Regions from separate parts of the Homo sapiens genome. Here region 2 is linked to region 1. Evidence: promoter capture Hi-C in 16 types of primary human blood cells and fetal thymus (Javierre and others, 2016). All regions are on one chromosome and are shown on one strand. The core of a region is centred on a gene start or on the middle of the fragment in contact, and the rest is flanking DNA. Distances in the headings are between cores, read along the strand shown. Region 1 holds the start of C1QTNF1 (C1q and TNF related 1). Region 2 overlaps RBFOX3 (RNA binding fox-1 homolog 3).

Region 1 (3,331 bases), core at 351-2,850:
CCTGTCTTGGTTCCCTCCTCCCCGGTTGGCAGGTGCTGGAGAGGCCTCCTGGAGCACGTCCTCCCATGTCCTCCCGCTCCCTGCAGCACACACCACAGCCAAGTGCGTCTATCTGTGGCTGTTCATGGCTGCACGGCCTGCCAGGGAGTGTGTACTTTCCTGCACTATAAAAAGCAGAGGCCGGGCAGCCTGTAAGGACATCACATGCTCCCCTGGGGCTGTGAAGTGGCCAGCGGTGGAGAAAACAGTTTCTCACGGCATTTCTCATGTTCAAAGCTCAGGACCAGAAAGCTCCCAGCACGTCATGTTGCCTCCTTTCCTAGAAACTAGGTGGGGTAGAAGAGTCAGGAACACCTCACAGAGGGGGGCGGCTTCCTCCCTCCCTCCCAAGCAGGGATGAGTCGGCCCAAGGGTGCCTGAAGCACGCGGAGGGTCCAGAGAAGATAATCTGGCTTTCTGGGGCTGGAAGAGTGTGGCCCGGGTATTGGCCCCGCGAGGCCCGGGCTAACAGTGGGGACCACACCTGCACCGGTGGAGAAGCCATGGAGGGCTGGGTGGTGGGCGGTGGGTCCACCTGCGAGGTCCAGAAGCCCCAGGGCGGCTCAGAGGCTCCAGCCCCAGGCCGGGGGGGCCACTCCCAGCGGCACAGGCAGCTTCGCTTCCCAGGAGGGCCCCGGGGAAGCAACACCGTTTTTTCCTGCCCAAGCTGGACCCCCTCCAGGACACCAAGGCTGTCAGATGCGGGGGGCCAAAGTCAGCGCTTCCTATTCCGTGAAGGTCCAGGTTGGCCACAGACAGGACTGGACAGACCCGGCGGTCAGGTGGTCCCAGTGATAAGGAGTGGGGTGAGGGCATCCCCGCCAGGTGCAGCCGCGGGCATTAGTACCATTCCTCTTCCTTCCACACCCTCAGAAAGGCACCAGAGAACAGTGAAACAAGATAAACACCCCACAAAAAACTAGGGGGAAGGTGCAATTCCTCCCGTTAGTATCCACGTGCAGAAAAGCCCCGCTCCTCCACAGTCAGGGAGACCCGGGACCATTATGACCCCCGCGCAAAGGCGCCTATGGCGGGGGCTGAGCCAGAGCCAGACGCCAGGGCTGCCCCCGAAAACCCGGGTCTTTCCGCCCCTGCGCCGCCACCGCCAACCGGCCCCTCCCACGGCGCTCTCCGTCCGTCCCGGCCCAGGTGTCTGCCATCCCCGCCCTGGCCACCAGGCTGAAGCCACGAGGATGGGGCGGGGCAGCGCTGGGTCCCCCGGCCCGGCCACCTACCTCCGTCCCGCCGGCCGCTCCTCCCGCGCCGCCCCTAGAGCATCTCCCGCCGGCCAAGCCTCCTCCCGGCCAGGTCCGGGGCGATGCACAGACTCGGTGAAGGAAACAGAGCAGGGGAAAAGGTCTTCCGGAGGACGGCAGTGCAGAAGAGGAGGGTGGGGGGCGGTACGAGCAGCCACAGGTCCCCCCCACCCACAGCACCTCCGTCTCCCCGGCGCGGTCTCCGAGGTCTCTGCGACCAGAAGCGGAAGCGCGGTTTCTCGAAAGTAAAGGAAGAGAGGGAGAAAGTGGGACAGACGCGCAAGGAGCGAAGCCCAGCCAGATGTGAGCAGCGAGGAGCCTCCAACACCCCCAGCGCTTTTCGTCCAAACAGCAGCCGCGGAGGATTAACCGTGTGTGCCCCGCGCCGCGCCTCAGGGAAATCCAGCGGCCGCCTCCTCCCGGCCCCCTGGGGAGCCCGCCAGGCTGAGAGTGGGGGTGGGGCAGATTCCGTGAGTCTGGAGGTCCGTCCAGAGGCGGAGGGGCTGCGAGCCCCGGACGAGAATGCCCCCCGCAGGATGGGGGTGCCCAGCAAGGCTGAGCGCTCCTAGTCACTTGGTAGCAGAGGGATGAGCCCCAAGGCCTCCGGGATCCGCTGTGGCCAACCCTGAGGGGTCAGGTCTCCAAACAGTGGCAGACCTGAGACGCCCTGTGCATTATCGGGGACTCAGACAGGTTTGGGGGAATCTGTGAACCCCCTATAACAAAATGCCAAACTGTGTGTGTGTGTGTGTGTGTGTGTGTGTGTGTGCGCGCGCGCGCATCACCTTTGGAAGGTGATGGTCCACTGTTTTGTTCAGAGTCTTGAGAGCTCTGTGATCTAAAGGTTAGGAAGGAGCCCCTGCCGGGAAGATTTCCATTTTCTAGAGAACAGCACGAGTACAGTGGTGAGCCCAGGATGGCTGGAAGCACTCCTCAGTCTCTATCAGGCCTCTCATTCCTTGATATGAAAACCTGACATTTTCTCAGTCATACACAAATATTTTTTCTGAACAAGGCCCGTAGGCTGCCCTCCCATCCTGATCCCTGATCCAGGCTGCTCCAGAGCCGGCCCTGGTTGGGACCCAGTCTCCATCCCTAGACTCTGCGTCAGCCCAGCTTGCTCTGGAAACTTACCATATCACTAGCAGGGGAAGGATTTGGCCAGAGAAGCAGAAGCCAGCTCTGATGATAACAGCATTCCCCCTTTTTTTGCTTCTTTTTTCCCCCCTCTGCCCTGTTCTCTCCGAGCTGCCCCTCACCTCGATGTTGCAGCTGGATTTTTTTGTTTTGTTATCCCTCCTGTGAGGGTCTGTCTCTGGACAAACAGGAGATGCGAAAATGGGGATGCTGGTTGGGACATTCAGAGCAAAACTAAGAGGCCTCACCTTTCCCTGCCTGGAGTGTCCTCCCATCCGCCGCACCAACAACTGGACAGATGAAAAGAATCAAAAAGGAGAGGAAGAAGAGGGTGCAAGCACAATGCCCACTGCCTTGCCCCAGGCTGGGCGAGGCCAGCACTCAGGTAGAGCTGAGGACAAATGGAGATGAGAACAGAAGGGGAGGCTTCCGGGCAGGCGAGGCGCCCAAAAGCCACTCCACAGAGGCCCTGACTGCATGCGTCAACCCCTCCTGTGAGTACAGGGAGAAAGGCTGCCAGGCCTCCAGCACCCAGGGGGAACTCAGAGGACACGATGGGGATATGAAGTCAACACTACTTAACCAACTAGAGATGCAGCCTCCGCTAGGCTTAGAAGATCAGGGGTTGCTTGTGTTCTTGGCATACGTGTCTGAGGCTTGGCAAAACCTACATCCCTGGTTGCTTATTGATACAGGAAAAGCCAGAGATAAGCTTGTCTCCATTCCTGTAAGTGACATGAGGAAGTTTCCCAGTCACCAGGAGCAAGGCTTAGCACACGGACTGACCTTTCCTTAGTTACTCTGTCCTCAAATAGCCCTTGGTGCAGGGATACCAGAGAAAACAACAGCATTTTTTGCAGCCCTTATGAGACCTTCGTCCATACTTCAGAGAATCTGGG
Region 2 (3,331 bases), core at 452-2,951, 350 kb before region 1:
ACTGCACACCAGCCTGGGCGACAAGAGTGAGACTCAGTCTCAAAACAAAAACAAAAACAAAAAAAGAAAACTCATCACAAAACCGTAGGGAGATGGGAGGAAACTGGTCCCTGCGCTCAGCCTGCCCTGGAGGAAGGAGGTTGTGTCCTTCCAGGGTGGCCCGTGACTTGCTGGGCAGGTGGTAGGCCCGGCTCCTGCTCGGGGGTTGAGGGGGAGCTCTGTCCAGGAGAAAGCAGCCGTGTGGAACTCACACATAAAAATGATGCTGGCACCCCAGGGGCCTCCAGTGTGGGCTGTAAAACCACCGAGACAGATTCAGGCCAGCAGGCGTCAAGTCCTCAGATGGAGTGTTTGCGAAATGCTCAGATGTGTGTTCAGGTAAGCACCCGTCTGGCCCCTCTGACCCATTTCACAGAGCACTTTGGAGAAAGGATTTCAGGTGTGTTCTGAATGGAGCCAGGATGGGTTCAGGCTGGTGCTGCCATTCATGATCAGAGGCTCTGAGCACGTGACATGCTCCCACGCCCAGCCCGAGTGCCTGGTAGGGTTGGGCTGGGTCCTTGGCAAGCCCCCTTCCCTCTCTGAGCTTCATTTTCTCCAAATGGAAATGTGGGGAGAGGTGTCGACTAGGCCCTTAAGGAGCTGGAGTTGAGTATGTATGTGTGGGGGCCGTAGGGGTGGGGAGGACAGAGGGAAGAACTTGGAGGGGTTCATGGACCTGAGGCCTGGGCCACAGCTGGGGGAGTCCGGTGCATTTGTAACACATGGAAATGGGGTTGGAATCAACCTGCTCCCCTGCCGTCACCCCTGTCTCTGCAAGCTTTGGAGGCCAGGCCTCTGCCCCACCTGCTGAGAGGCGACGTGAGCTTCCTCTTCCGAGGAGTGAGATAAAAGTCCAGTGGGCCGGCCCCATCCACCCTGGGCTGGGCTCTAATTGCTGGCCCTTGTTCCTTATCAGCCCCTGACTCCTGCCAGTCCCCGCCCACCTTCTGCCCTGTCTTGCTCTGCGTTATAGACTCATTTCACGCAATTGCACCAGAAAAATCTCAGGAACAGACTCATGTTTTCTGTCAGCTTCCCCCAGCACACCTGCGGCCAGTTGGACACGCAGCTCTACCTCTATGCTGGTTCCTCCTGATGCCCACGCAAAGGTGGGCAACAGTCCCTGCCCAGACTCCCCTTTTTCTGGAGCATGAGAAGGGTTAATCAGGTGTGTCTCACACGTCTGTCCCTGCCCTGCCCCTGTGGGTGGGGAGGAAGTCCCCAGGAAACATGGGGGAGCTGACATCCCAGAGCCTCCAGCCAGGAGACTGGGCTGAGCTAGGCTGTTCATCCTGGCAGGGATCTGGGGGGGATTTAGAATGGAGAAAGACCCGCAGGGGTGGGAGCCCGGGCCAGGCCTGGCCTTGGGAGCATCCATCACACAGAGGCGGAGCCATGGACTGGCCCATAAGTCCAGGGGGGAGACATAAAACTGGGGGGTCATAAGACTGAGGAGAGCCATAGGATGGGGGAGCCCATAGGGCTTAGGGGGATCCACAGGATGGGGAGGTGGGGCCTGTAGGACCTGGGAGGAGACATAGGATGGGGGGGATTTGACAGGGGGGGGTCTATAGTATAGAGGGGCTATAGGACCCAGGGGAGCCATAGGATTGCCGGGGATAGTATGGGGAGGCCATAGGACAGGCTGGGGAGCCAGCTGACAGAGTCCTGCGGGCAGGCAGTGCTGTCCGGGGCAGGCTGTTCCTGGGGAAGGAGCCCTCACAGCACCGGGCAGCGCATTGCTGAGGGCTGCCGTGGCCACAGTCATCCTCGCAGTTACTGGCGTTTAGAGGGTGCATTCACCGTGCTAGGCCCAAATGAAGCGTCTGCGAGGAGGGTCTCCTCGAACCTGCCTGTAACTGAAGCGTCTGCGGGGAGGGTCTCCCCGAACCTGCCTGTGGGCTGTGGTTGCTCTGCACCTCTCCTTGGCCTGCTTAGGAGCCTCGATCCTCTGATCCTGGTTTTGGTATGAATTGAACAATGCTTTCTGCGGGGACAGCCAGCTCCCCATCTCAGTGTCGTGACACAGCAGAGACACGCTTCTCACCATGCCAGGTCCCTCAGGGCACGGCTGACCAGGGCGAGGCTCTGCTCCCAAGGGTGACCCCAAGCCCCAGTCCCTCCCACTTGCAGGATCTGCCATCTTTAACACGTGGTTTCCACATTTTCGAGAAGAGGAAAGAGCGTGAGGGCTGCTGGGGGTGTCCTGGAGATGACACGTGTCCCCCCACCACATTTGGTTGGTGGGACCTTCCTCATCGAGTGGCCCCTAACCCTAGGGACTGCTGGACACTCTGGGCGTCTCGATTTTCTCTTTAAACAGAGTGGTGTCAGGAGCAGCAAGGAGTGCTCTGCCTTCAGGAGCCAAAGCCCCTGATAGACTGCATGGGGTCTATGGAGCCCAGCAACAAGGGCCACTCTGCAGCCAGGGAGCTCTTGCCCCCACAGGGAGCAGGAAAGGGGAGGGCGAGCATGGGCACTCAGCTGAGGAAGACGGAAGCCCTGGGCTCCTCTGGAATCTGGCCACGGGCAAAGCTTCCTCATTTGTTCTAAAGCAGCAAGATATTCACAGCCCTTCGGATGTGCCCATTTCACAGTGGAACGTACCAGAACCTTCCAAACCCAGGTGCCCAGGCAGAGCAAAGTGGGGTTAATCTGCCCCATGGAGGCAACAGGGCCGCCACTGTGGCCCCTCGCCATGGTCCCTCAGTGAAGAAAGGCAGAGAAGGAGGTCCCAGGCCCCAGTGCAGAGCAGGTGGCCCAGGGACACCCAGACAGGAGGAGGGACACCGTGCTGGCCTGGGAAGCCACCCCACCGTGCATGCCTCCCCAAGTCCCCTGCCGTGCATGTCCCCCTTCCCTCCCTAACCCCCTACCGGGGGAGGAGAGGAAAGGTGCCTTCCCAGTCACAAGCACCTGCTGGGAGCTCCAGGTGTTCTTGGCTTGGCCCCACATGGGGGCACTGGTTTCTCCAGATAAGGTGCTTGGCCCTGGGAACTAAGGACCCAGAGAAGCATGTGTGTGCATGTGCCTGTGTGCATATGTGAGTGAGCTTGTGTGTGAGTGAGTGTGACTGCAAGTCAAGGTGTATGCATGAGACATGTGCGTGTGTATGTGAGCGTAGGCCTGTGTGTGTTAGTGAGCACGTATGTGTTAGTGTATGTGACCGTGCATTTCAGGGTGTATGAGAGATGTGTACATGTGTGTGCCTGTGTGAGTGAGCACACATATGTATGTATGTTAGTGTATGTGACTGTGCATGTCAGGGTGTATGAGAGACGTGTACGTG

Evidence for each region. Contacts are between HindIII fragments. The CHiCAGO score rates a contact against its expected background, and 5 or more counts as called.
Region 2: a fragment that was not itself captured here is called in contact with the fragment with the promoter of C1QTNF1 in region 1 in 1 of 17 cell types (M0 macrophages); the score reaches 5.3 in M0 macrophages.

The regions. Positions count from the first base shown.
Region 1 is chr17:79,022,438-79,025,768 of GRCh38, reverse strand. C1QTNF1 (C1q and TNF related 1) reads right to left here and starts at 1,600. Exons shown (of 4, transcript NM_030968.5): 1 at 1,275-1,600. The region is part of intron 1 of C1QTNF1-AS1 (C1QTNF1 antisense RNA 1); the gene reads left to right. RefSeq lists a silencer at 1,179-1,268. The HindIII fragment of the contact is 3,178 bases long and covers 1-3,146 here.
Region 2 is chr17:79,370,586-79,373,916 of GRCh38, reverse strand. The region is part of intron 2 of RBFOX3 (RNA binding fox-1 homolog 3); the gene reads left to right. Among named protein-coding and RNA genes, the nearest start is that of RBFOX3, 240 kb to the left of the region's middle. RefSeq lists a silencer at 20-183. The HindIII fragment of the contact is 1,757 bases long and covers 823-2,579 here.